Regions from separate parts of the Homo sapiens genome. Here region 2 is linked to region 1. Evidence: promoter capture Hi-C in human tissues and cell types (Jung and others, 2019). All regions are on one chromosome and are shown on one strand. The core of a region is centred on a gene start or on the middle of the fragment in contact, and the rest is flanking DNA. Distances in the headings are between cores, read along the strand shown.

Region 1 (6,762 bases), core at 2,227-4,726:
CTTAAGCATCTTACATAACCTCTCTGATTCCCCCAGCTGACTCACAAAGTGAAGGATTCCTACCTACCTCCTGCCTATACAATTAGAGGGCATTTTTATGACCTGAAATCCACTCAATAAACATTTCTGAGAACACATGATGTACCAGGCAAACTGCTAGGTGCTGGAGAGATGAATATAAACATGTCCTTGTTCTGAAGAAGCTCATCCCATATTTAAGATAAGGAGACTGTGGCACATTTACAACTCAGATAACTGCAATATTGTAAGTGCTATCTTAGCTCTATGAACAAAAAGGCTATGGGAAAACAGGAGAAGAAGTGGTTAATTATGCCTTGCAGGGACTGTAATTTCAGGATATTATTTTGATTGTAACTTAAAACAAATGAGTGCACAACTACGGAAAATTGTGTGGCTAAGCATGAATCAACAAATACCTTGACTATACCTAAATTATAAAAATTACCATAGCGCATGAAAACACTGCCTGCCTGCCTATTTAGACCAATCATTGCTTCACCCATTTTTGTGACAAGCAACAGCGCTAGCAAGTTTTGAGAGCAACACCAAATTACATCAGAGAAAGTAAGTCTCATGCCATTGTCAATTACTGCATAGGATGAAACAGCTATCTAGAGTGTCTCATTAGAAACAAACAAAAACCAATGATTGGAAAAAGTGAATTCTCAATTATCTAAGATGGGGTTGGAATGAATAACTCCACAAAAGGAGAACACCTGTTATCCAATTAATTCAATCTTCTTCTCTTTTCCCCAACCCTCCACCAAATGTTTTGCTATAGTGGACAAAAAAAAAAAAAAAAGACCTGTTTGAGTTGGTGAGTAATTTCACTTATGGGGAAAATGCAGACGCTTGGGTTTTAAAAGCTGCAAGGTATAAAAATAAGCCGCAGATTCTACAGTCAATCCTTGGTTTGCTTGCATGGTTCACGTTATAATTATTTGCCTTTCCAACACTGGGTAACTTTTCTTACTCCTCTGTCAGTTACCACAGAATGCTGGAACTAGAAAGAACGATAGAAACCAGCCAGTCCAACTTCCTTTACCATGAGGAATGAGACTCAGGCTTGTCTTTCCATATCACATCTGGCCTTTTAATATTTCTTTTGTTAACAATCATATCAGATGGAAGCATAATAGAAGGTAAAGCTCAAAGTGATCTTGTAATACATCCATCTTTAAAAGCCAGAGTGTAAAAGGAATCAAGTCAAATGATGCTATATACACAAATAACAGAGCTGCAGTCCCTCTGTATTGATACATTGATGGGCTGTTCCAGCTCCGGATGTGACCTCCCTATCAAGTCAATAATGTCACAATCTAAACAAACTTAGGCAATTTGCCTTCATGAAAAAACTACTCCAAAAAAAAAGAGAACTGTCATTCCACAAAGCAGCCAACTGCACTAGACTGGGATTATAGTGTGGAATTAGTCAGAACGTGGATTATTAAATAAAACACTAGAACGGCCAATTTGCCTGGAGGTCTAGGAATTAAAATAGTGCTTTGTTTTTCCAATGCCACATTCCAGAGGAAGCAGCAAGCGGAGGGAACAGGCAACAGGGAATTCTACCAACAGGGAATTCTACCACAATCTATCTCTCTACCAAACAGGCACACACATTCATACCAGGGTGGGCATGTGGACTCTAATCCCTTCTTAGTGGAAAACACACATTTTTAAATGAATCCCCAATCTAGAATGAATTACCGTAATAGCCACAGCCGGAGTGAGTCTGCTGATGAGAAACGCAGATCTGGCCACCTGCTTTGAGACGCCTTGGACCACAACACTGCCGGGGTCTTTAACGGTTGGCCTTTTCGGGTAGGGCATCTGCCCTCCTAAATCGCGTTTAAATCCCAGGAAAAGAGAGAAGATGCCTCCCTCAATTTTTGAACTATGCTGCTCTTGCTGTATCCGTTTCTGCTGAACATAGCATTGATATCTTTTCAAAGAGAAGGGGGGAAAACAAGGGGAGAATTGCACCACTGCAGATTCCAAGAGAAGTAAGCACAAAACTACAGCAACGTCAAATAATATCTTCTTCGGCAACTAGGAAAATCCCCACATGCTCTCTGGTGTCAGCCCAATGCAGACTGAGGCGCGCTGTGCCCGGAACCACAGGAAGCCGGGCATCTCTGCAGCCTGTGTCCCTGCCAGCTCCCCCTACGCGCTGAAATTCGGCAGGGAAGAAGTTATGGTGCCCAGCCTCTGTGTGCAAGACAGAGACACCGCGCATCATGGCTCTGAAAATCAGCCAAGTGGCCGGGACGTCAAAGCGGCAGAGCAATCAGAATGCCCTGGAGCCGGGGATGGAGGGGCCACATTGTTTGAGCCCTCGGATTTTGCTGCATTGTCACCGCCCGGGAACGTGGGGGTAGCAGGAAGCGCACCTCCAGCCAAAAATGGACCGGACGCATTCCCCCCCCCTCCCCGCCCCGGCAGCTCCCTCCCTGCCTGTCTGCAAGTCGCAATACGGTAGGCGACATGACTGCTCCCGCTAAAACTCAGGTGGCAGGCCCGGCTGAGCGGCGCAGCCGGCCGGTAACAGGGAGGCGCTGGGGGAGCACCCACACAGCGCCTCCTCCCCTCCTGCACCCGTCCATGGGAGCAAGGGCCGGACCTGGCCACGCGCCCCTCGAGCGAGCACCGGCGAGCCCGTGCGGAGGCTCTGGGCGCTCTCTGGGCTAACCACGGGCATTGCATGGGACACAATTGTTCAAAAGCGAGCCCAAGGCGAAGCGCAAATCCAGAGCTTTGGTTCACAAGGGGTGGGTGTGGGCTGGGAAGGGGGATTACGTAGGTCTCTCCGCCCCCTCCCCTGACACCTCCTCGCCACTGGGAGGGCGCTGAGGGGCGGGGGAGGCGCTGCGAACCCGCTTGGGGGCTTCTTTGTTTCTCTCCGTACCCCGCAGGAGGGCCGGGTGCGCCTGCAGTACCCAAGCCGGGGTCGCCACCCGGGGATGCCGGCCCGGACCGGGCGGCGGCGCGACCCAGGCTGACAATTGAACCTCGCGGGAGAAGCGAGAGGGTGGGGAGGAGGGTGGATCTCGGCCCCGAGAAGGGAGGGCGCTGCCGGGGCCTCGCGTGCGGCGGGGAAGCCGCCCAGAGAAGGGCGGGGGGGAAGGGGCGGCAGACAGTGTCCCCGCGCTACGCCCGCTTACCTTGGCAGCCCTGGCCTGGGCACAGATCATGCTCCTGTCAGCGCGCAGATTAGAGCTGGGGGGCGCACGTGCCCCGCATAGTGCACCGGGCGCCTGGGACTGGCTGGGGAGGGGACCCTGGCGACCGCCCGCTCTCGCTGCGCTCTGGCTGCCGGGTGCCCCGAGAGAGCGGAGGCCACGGCCACTGTCACGGCGGAGGGGCGCGCGCGGCTCGGCGAGTGTGTGCGCGAGGAGGGGGCCGGTTCGGTCAGAGTCGCACGGTGTTCCGGCTCCAACAACAGCGCCTGATGCGCGGTAACGCAGCACACTTCATCGCTTTATCCTCCCGCTTGCATCCCCTCCCTCCCTGCCTGCTCCTCTGTGGGTACCAGACTCCAGAACCAACCACAAGCCGGGCTTGCTCTCATTAGCGCTGCCCCGCCCTGCAGCCTCCGCGCACCCCCACCCCCGCCCCCGCGGTAAATATATATCGATTCTTGTTACCGCCGGCCCCATCCTTCCAACACCCAGCACGCGTACTGGGCATATCCAACACCAACCCTGGCTCCTCGGCCCTTTTGTGTGTGTGCAAACAGTGTAGCAGAAAGGATGCGGTACAGACACTCTAGGCGGGTACCCTGTGACAGGTGTTCTTGGCCTCTGTCTTAGACACTTTCCTCGCTTACCTTACACACAGTTAAGAACGCTCAGAGACACATTTCAGGAACCGTCCTGTATTTGCACAAGCACACAAAACATCGTAATGACAAATGCAAAGGATGAAAATCACCCCAGAATATCTATTGTTGGGCAAACCTAGCTCCCAAACCGCGTTTTCTATTACACTGCACACAGTGTCAGAATGCTAGAACGAGAAGGAGGCAAAGTCTAGACCCTTCCAGGTACAGCCAACTGAGATGCAAAGAGAAGTGAAATGCTGGTTACTATTGGTGGTTGGCTGCTCCATGTATGCACATTTTTGTGCATCTGGTCGACATTTGGTTTGTGTGTGTTCACATAAAATGCAGAGGCTTTGAGCACATAATCTCTATAGCCTGGGATTTTATGATCCAACCACATTCTCTACAATGCTGATTTATTCCTTCCCATTATTTTGCCCAGCATCCTCTACATGAGCTTTTTTTCACTTTCTGAGAAGTTATCTTCTTTCCCAGACCCCAAACTCCGCCTCCTCTAGAATAAACAAAGGCTTCACCCTGACTTCAGAACTCCTTACTGAAGACCTGAGTACGGACTTGTCAAAACCAAATCTCCTTCCCCTTCCACCCACAGTGGCTAGTTTCTCAGTGCCTCTCATTCCACTGACCTGCCTCTTGGCATTGATTTCACTCTTACAACTGGAACTTTCCAGAACTGGAAACTTTGGACGATGTGAAGGCAGCTTCACCAGCTGTGCTCTTTTCTGCAAGGAGGCACAGCCCTTCTCTTTCCGTATTCCACTTGGGGTGCCCAGTCCTTTCCTGACAGACCCTTTTCTTTGCCTGACAGCAGTCAGATCTTCTGGTCAGATGAGCTCAAAGCAGACCATTTTCAAACCTTAGCTAAGAATCCACACAGAAAGCTGTGCACACATTTCTCCGGATTTTACACTTGGATTAGTACCAACTCCTATATGAAGAAAACTCTCCGAGAATAGACTTGAACAGGCTGTGGCAGTAAACAGCAACAGCAACCAACCATGTGATGTTTCCAACCAGAGACTTGAAAGAAAACAAAAACTTTCACATAAACCAGCATCCATGGTTTCTAAATTAGCACAATGTCACCAAACCACAATAAAGGATAATTTTTTTACCTCAACTAATTGCCAGGATGTTCACCTCATTATTTTCAGTGAATCAGCATCAACTTGGCTCAGAGATGTTTGCTCTCTGTTCTATCCATCATGGAGATGACTTGACAAGTCCACATCTCTCATAGAGGTTATTGATGTAGCAATCCTTGTGGTGTGCTTTATCCTCCCCTGAGGAGTTGCTTTTTTTATACTGAAGACAAAAGATATTAAAATAGCAGTACACAAAGTTTCACATCCTGAGTAGATAAAGAAGCCTTGTAGAGCAGCTTCTACATGTCAGGTGCAATGGCAGCATATACAGACTCCTGTGTATTGTCCCCTTTTATTTTTATTATTTTTATTTTTTGTGAGGGGTCTCACTCCAATGCCCAGGGTGGAGTATAGTGGTGCAATCTCCATTCACTGCAACCTCCGCCTCCCAGGCTCAAGCAACTCTCCCCCCTCAGCCTCCCGAGTACCTGGGAGTACAGGTGTGTGCCACCATGCCTGGCTAATTTGTTTTTTGTATTTTTAGTGGAGATGGGGTTTTGCCAAGTTGCCCAGGCTGGTCTTGAACTCCTGAGCTCAAGCAATCCTCCTGCCTCAGCCCCCCAAAGTGCTAGGATTACAGACGTGAACCACCATGCCTGGCCTGTTTTGTTTGTTATTCCTAACAGTCCCCCTGTAGTCTGGGTAGCATGATCCTATTTTACAGAAGAAAGCAAAAAGGCTATGTTAGTTCTGTAATTTCCTTAAGTCTTGTTTCAAGCAGAAGACCTTGAATCTGGAGTTTACAGATGTCAGCTGCCCTAACCTTAAAGAGAAGAGTATTTGGTGGAGAAAGGAAAAGACATGGCATGAATCTTAAAGCCATCCTAGTAGTCATATTTATTAAGTTTCTAATGTACTCAAAATACTGTTATAAATAATAAGTCACAGTCCCAGTGCGTCCCTCCTAATACTAACCTTATATAATGGCGTAAAGTGAATGTTGAAGGTTTTGAGATGCATATACAAACACCTGTATTATCATAATGCCCATGCAACCGAATCTTCCACCTTTTGTAACTCGAGGCCCAGGAGGACCCAGGGAGGGGGTGACATGCCTGCTCACCTGCTCATCTCAGGCCACATGCAGATAAAGATTAGCAAACAGAGCACCATTCACAAATGGTCCCTACAATGCTGAGAAAACGATAACTTGAACCAATCCGGGGCTTTATCTTTGGGGATAGGCCTTCAACATAATGTCGGAAGTGAACGCACTATAACTAGGGGAGGAAAAAGACCGAGCTGTTGAAGCTATCTCACATAGTCTCTGCACAGGAGCAAATTGTAGCCAATAATACAAGATTGTCATTTGGACTTTCCTAATGACTAATGATGGTGAGCATCTACTTTTGTGCTTCTCTTCCATCCGTCTATCATTTGTAGTAAAGTGCTCAAAATTTTTGCTCATTTTTAAGTGGGTTGTTTGCTTTTATATTGTTCATTTTTGAGAGTTCTTTCTGTATTCTAGATACAATGTCTTTGTCAGATAAGTTTTCTGAATATTTCCTCCCCATGTGTGGCTTGTCTTTTCATTCTCTTAGTAGTTTCTGTCACAGAGTAAATGTCTTTAAAGTTGATGGAGTTCAATGTATCAACTTTTTCTTTCAGAGATCATGCTTTTGGTATATCTAAGAACTCTTTTGACTAACCAAGGTTACAAAGAGTTGTGTTTTGCTGATAAGTTTCAAGATTTTACATTTTACACTTAAGTATTTGGTTCATTTTGAATTCTTATTATTTTTTAGGTGTGAG
Region 2 (6,151 bases), core at 1,978-4,477, 53 kb before region 1:
ATTGGGAATGCAGGGTCCTCTTTCAGCTATGGGAGTAGCAATGAATAGCATATGATCCCTTGTAATTACCCAGTAATGTAAATTGAGGGAGAGCATTTGATTTCTTTCCCTACTAATTTCAAATATACAAGTAATGCATGAACATATTCTCCTGGTAAAACAATTTAAATACTACAGGTAAAAGTAAAGTCCTCCAAGAAATCACCCCTCACCCAAGCTCTCAGAAGCCACCATTTCAGTTTATTATCAGTTTGGTGCATATCTTTCTATAGTGAACAATGAGAAATTTCCTGCCCCCCTTAAATGTTTTATTTCACCAATCTGGTTGGAGTAGAATCATATCTTGTCAGTGTTTTAACATGCATAGTGCTAATTGCAGGTGAAACTGAGTATCCTTGCGTATACTTATTGACTTTTACTTCCTCTGTGAATTGCCTGTTCACCTCCTTCACTGATTTGTGTCTGTCTATGTATGTGTCTCTTATCCCTATTGATTAATACATACTATTATTATTATTCTTATTATTATTTTGGAGACAGGGTTTTGCTGTGTCACCCAGGCTGAAGTGTAGTGGTACAATCACAGCTTACTGCAGCCTCAGAATCCTAGGCTCAAGTGATCCCTCCACCTCAGTCTCCTGAGTAGCTGGGACCTCAGGCACACACCATCATGCCTGGCTAATTTAAAAAAAAATTTTGAGAAGATAGGGTCTCAGTATGTTGCCCAGGTTGGTCTCAAACTCCTGGCCTCAAGGGGTCCTCCCACTTCAGCTTCCCAAATTGTTGAGATTACAAGCGTGAGCCACCATGCCCAGCTGGCACATACATATGAGATGCATCCCAAGGTCTCTGTGTGTTCACCTGTATCCCTGCACACCACATACTGTATAATAGCTGTATGTTTCCTTGTCTCTCTCTCTCTGTCTCTCACACAGGCTGAACATATAATTGTGGTCTGAATTAAGATAGCATCCCATGATTCAACACTCATAAACATGATCTTTGTGCAATGCAGGTGCAAGATATTGGGGACATCATGCAAAAGTGAAACATGTCCAGTCCCTCTCCTCACGACACGTACACAAATCTACTTGTAAAAATAAACTAGTTGGTAATTGAACAAATGCCGAAAGGAAGCGTACACCACGGGCTATGGGGATTTAGAGATGGGAGGAATAATTTTACTTGGTGGTGTGGTGTTGGTGAGGGGTATGTGTGATGTGTGAGTATTCAGGAGTGCTGGGCTTACAGTATGGTTGTCTGGTTCAAATTCTAGCTCCAGCATTTATTTACTAGCAAGCCACCTAACCTCTCCAAGCCTCAATTTGTTTCCTCTTTAAAACAGGGTGTGTGTTAGAGTGTGAGTGATCATAATAGTACTGTTTAAGAATTAAATGAGGTGATCCTAGTAACACTTTTGTCAGCCATTACAGGAGAGAGGGTGGTACTTGAACTAGAACTTAATGCTAGAAGATACCTACATGGGTGGAAAGCAAATTTGTGAAGGTTTGGCTTTTACGCCACAATCCCTCATCCTTCTTTTTTACCCTTTCCTCCCTTATTCCTCCTGAACACACATTTCTTGAAACCTGCCCCAGCATGCCACCTATGCATTCTCTTTCACTTCTTGTAGGTTCCTCTGTAATGTCCTCCCATGTCCTGCTAGACCTCATCCTCCGAACCTCTTCCAACCTCCCTCCATCTGGAGTTGTTGAATAGTGGATCCCTTAAATTCATATCCACCCTTCTAGAACTTCAGAATATGACTTTATTTGGAAAGAGGCTCTTTGCAGAGGTGATTAAGCAAGGATCTTGAGATAAAATCACCCTAGATTTAGGGTGGACTCTAAGTGCAATGACTAGTATTCCTCGAATAGAAGAGAAGACACAGAGACATAGGGGAAGGAGGCCATGTGGAGATGAAGGCAAGGGCTGGAGTTATGTGGCCACAAACCGAGAAAGGTCAAGCACCACCAGGAGCTGGAAGAGGATAGGGGAGGATCCTCCTCTAGGGCCTTTGAAGGGAGCATGGCCCTTCTCATACCTAATATGAGACTTCTGGCTTCCAGAACTGAGAGAATAAATTCCTGTTGCTTTAGGCCATAAAGTTTGTGATAAGTTGTTATAGCAATGGGAAGTGAATCCACTATCTCATCAGAAAGGGGTCTTTTGGAAACATCCCACTCTGGTCATGCCTCTTGCCTGCCTTGCGTCATTCAGTGGCTGCCTACAGCCTGAGAGGTGAAGTCCCCTGGGGCCTGGCACACGGGGTCATCCACATGCGGCCACAGTTGCTGAGCTCTCCAGGAGCACCTGTCATCACCCATGACCAGCCATGGCCTGGGCCTGTGCTGCCCTCCCTGGCCCCACCCTCAGTCCTGTGCTGGTAATTAATTAAGATCAATAATTCAAATGGGCCCTTTCCACCTGACCAACAGAATGGTTTGCAGCATTCACCTCAGTGTCTTAGTACTCTTTAGTGGACAAAGGTTCCTATTATACTTCCTCTCAAGTTATGAATCATCTATAATCATCAATAAAATGTAATCTGAAGGATAATGTATACTGTACAATGTGAAATAAACAAAACATCTTTTTAGTAAAGAAAAGCTTTTACTTGTAATGTGACTAACCCCTATCTTTTCTTAAAATATCAGTAATAATAAGAGTTGGCTCAGGGGTCAGCCTTCCCTCATCCATCTCCACCCTGCAGCTGGCCTGGGTGCTGCTTCTAGATCCTAATACTATTATAGCTTGGGTAGGCATCTAGCTTATCACTCACCATTTCAAAGTCAATCTCCTTCACCAGGCCAGGCACAGTGGCTCATGCCTATAATCTTAGCACTTTGGGAGGCCAAGGCAGGTGGAACACACCTGAGGTCAGGAGTTCGTGACCAACCTGGCCAACATAGCAAAACCCCATCTCTACTAAAAATACAAAAGTAGCTGGCTGTGGTGGTGGGTGCCTGTAATCCCAGCTACTTGGGAGGCTGAGGCAAGAGAATTGCTTGAACCCAGGAGGCAGAGGTTGCAGTGAGCTGAGATAGCACCACTTCACTCCAGCCTGGGCGAAAGAGTGAAACTCTGTCTCAAAAAAAACCAAAAACACAAACAAACAAAAATCCCTTCACCAGAGAGGAAGGAAGACTTTTAACCATGTCCAATTCATCTTTGTGACCTAGCCACTCCAGCTGTGCTTGAACCACGGCAGGAGCTCATAGACACTGGTTGAATAATTGAATGAGTGAATGAGTATATTAATAGGCAAGGAGTTAGAGGGAAAGTCCTCTTTTAAATCTGCATTGGGACTCAGAATCTCAACACATGCAAATGGCTGATGGCATGGTTTTATATCTCTGGCATGACTGATTGAAATAAGAAATAGAAAGGAAGTTATTTCTGCTGGAGACACAGCATCTCAACTTTATTTGTCTTAATATAAAGCTTATAGCATATTTTCACAACTGCTGGCATGATTGATTGTAAGGAAACTATTACTAAAAAAAAATCTAAGTGATTAGAGTGGGCTCACAACGCCTATGTATGGATAAAAAGCATCATACAACCAGAAACCAAAAACTCTGCATAGGAGAGTTGTGTCCTTTTCAAATGCACAAAAAGCAAAAATAAAATCACTCTTATGTTCTCAAATCTATCTAAACTCCACAGAGTAAGCATCTTACACCTTCACGGATAATTGATTGAATTGTTATTAATGACCTTTGATGTCATTAGAGGCTGTTGTATTCAAACACACACACATACCTGTGTGCACACACACAAACACCCCCCCCCGCCAAAAGCCCAGTGTCCTTTGCATTATTTTCTAACCTCATGATATGTAACATAATTCATACACAGTGTTCTAAAGTTGGAAATTGTATGCACATGGCTGCCAATGTGTTCTGGAAATCTCCAACTCTGGACACAAAAGTGAAAACAGAGGAAAAGAAAAAGGGAAATTGACACATTTCAATAAACATTACAAACAATCAGTGCACTGTAATAATACTTGAAATAGATGCCAGGGAAAATTAAAATCCCTTTTATTTCCATTATTTTATTATTTTCATCATTTAGGGATTGAGAAGGCCTTACTATTGAAACCAAATTTCAAGCCAGACTAACTTATGGCATTTCTCCAAAAGTGGAAATGTTCTGAAACAAGGGAGCAGTTACAAATATAGACAAAGGGGCATTCCCTGACTCAGAGAGAGAGGAACCTTTAGAAACCACTGATTCATCCTTCTGCTTTCAGCCATGACTCTTCACTCTTAAGACACTCGCTGATGAATGAGCTTGTGTTATGATGACCTGCAGAGTGCAGGACAAATATTCTGAATCATACACCATGGAAGCGCGGCTGCATGCTCGGCATCTCCTTTCTAATTCTGGAAGAGTCTGCACTTGCCTCACATGCACCATCAGTCCTGGAGATCTGACCCCAGGATGTGGCGCTCTCTGTCCTCGCCTCTTTCTCCATTGCTTCTCCCTCCCTCCACACCAAAAGGAAAGTCCAGTCCAGTGGCCCTGAAACACACCCACTATGCACCAAGGACTGTGCCATGGCTGCTGGCCCTGCAGGGGCCTGACCCTCAGGAGGCCTGATAAAGGAAGGAGGGAGGGGTGTGTCTTCCCATGGGGAGCACAGGAGGGGTGCACTGAGGGGAGTCTGGGCACACAGCACAGATGCCGAGCAGCCCCCTCCACTCAAGGCTCGATCCAGAGGACACCCTGGTGCCTTCTTGATTTCCCAATGTTGCTGAATCTTCCCCCAGGAGGCCCCACTGGCACCTTCAACTCAACTTATGCAAAACACTGTTTCAATATGTGCTAACATTTTATTGGTCATGCACTTTTTATTAGCTGCTTTAATTTTTTGAAAGTAATTGAGGCATAAATAAATCATAAAAATAATAACTATTAAGTGCCAATGGCTGAGCCCTTCCTCCTCCTGCCTTCTCTGCTGCCTCCCTGTCTCCAGCCCATGCAGACCAGATGACTCGGGCCAACTCTGACTTCTCTTTGGCCATTCCTCTCCCCAGCCTGGTCCTTAGCTGCTCTTTGACTTCCCCCATGTATTGGCTCCCTTTCATTCCCACTACCTCCACCCAAGCCTGGGCCTCCAACCGCTCTCTTCGCTGCCTGCCCTGGCTCTTCTCCCTGTGTGAAATCTGCCAGCCAGGGCAGGATGAACTCCTGCCCACCTCCTGTCACCCAAGGCCCAGTTTTTTCTCTTAGACTGAGATTCTAGAAATACTAAATAAATTACTTGCTCTTGCCAGAACAGGACAATGACTTCCTTCTTTACAGTTGTACTCAACTGTTCGAGTCACCTGCAATACCCTCATCTTTGCTTGTCCAAATCCTTCCATCAAATCCAAACATCTCCACCATTTCTCAGTGGTTAGACCCAAGATGTGAGGGTTCCTGGCAGCCACATGTAGCAGGCAAGGAGGGAATGAACAAGATTAGGAAGAATTAAAGCAGAGCCATTTGGGGGAGCTTAGTTGATCGAACCTGGGGCAACTCTTTCCCAGGGGTCATAACTGGTCACTGAATCTGGGTTCTGGCTGACGGCTGGGAATGGAAGACCAGGAGCATGAGGGTGACTTGTAGCAAGCTCCCTGGATAACTGGCATATGGTCTGCGACTTGGCCTGGACCTTCAAATGGAAGGTCAGGGAGCCTAGGGAGGTGGGTTGAGGAATCCAGCCAGAAGCAGAGCCTGCCTCCATCTCCCCAGTCTTCGCAGCACCTCCCCCCGGACAGAACAAGGGTGGTGTTTGGCACACAATGAGCACTTCTGTCACTGCACACAGTGGGGGTGTGTATGTGTGTGTGCATGCACACTGATCAACATGGTGTCCTTTCCATATATGGTTCGCAATCCAACCCAAGGTGAAATGTATTTGCAATCCTCAAACTAGTAATGAATCTGATCGGATTTGCGTTCTTTTCTTCCAATAGCTTGGCAACGGGGAGAAATTGTTCAAGAAGCCTGGTGTGTGTTTGTTTGTTTATTGGGAGTGGTTTGCACAGATGGGATACAGCAAAAGGCTTTGGGACTGTTCTCGTCTGTGCTGTGTGCTCCTGGTCAACTCCCTTGCCTTTGCCTGCACAGGTCCAAAGGTGCCGGGTTGTTTCAGTTA

Evidence for each region. The method cuts DNA at HindIII sites, captures the fragments that hold promoters and counts their contacts. A contact is called where the count stands out against the background at its distance.
Region 2: a fragment that was not itself captured here is called in contact with the fragment with the promoter of HECW1 in region 1 in 2 of the 25 tissues and cell types used here (adrenal gland and dorsolateral prefrontal cortex).

Annotation. Positions count from the first base shown.
Region 1 is chr7:43,109,361-43,116,122 of GRCh38, reverse strand. It overlaps HECW1 (HECT, C2 and WW domain containing E3 ubiquitin protein ligase 1), which reads right to left and starts at 3,476. Exons shown (of 30, transcript NM_015052.5): 1 at 3,186-3,476; 2 at 1,732-1,966. The HindIII fragment of the contact is 15,211 bases long and covers 1-6,762 here.
Region 2 is chr7:43,163,042-43,169,192 of GRCh38, reverse strand. All of the region lies in intron 2 of HECW1 (HECT, C2 and WW domain containing E3 ubiquitin protein ligase 1), which reads right to left. It overlaps HECW1-IT1 (HECW1 intronic transcript 1), which reads right to left. Exons shown (of 7, transcript NR_135295.1): 7 at 6,006-6,151. Among named protein-coding and RNA genes, the nearest start is that of MIR3943, 15 kb to the right of the region's middle. RefSeq lists an enhancer at 4,565-4,624. The HindIII fragment of the contact is 4,422 bases long and covers 1,017-5,438 here.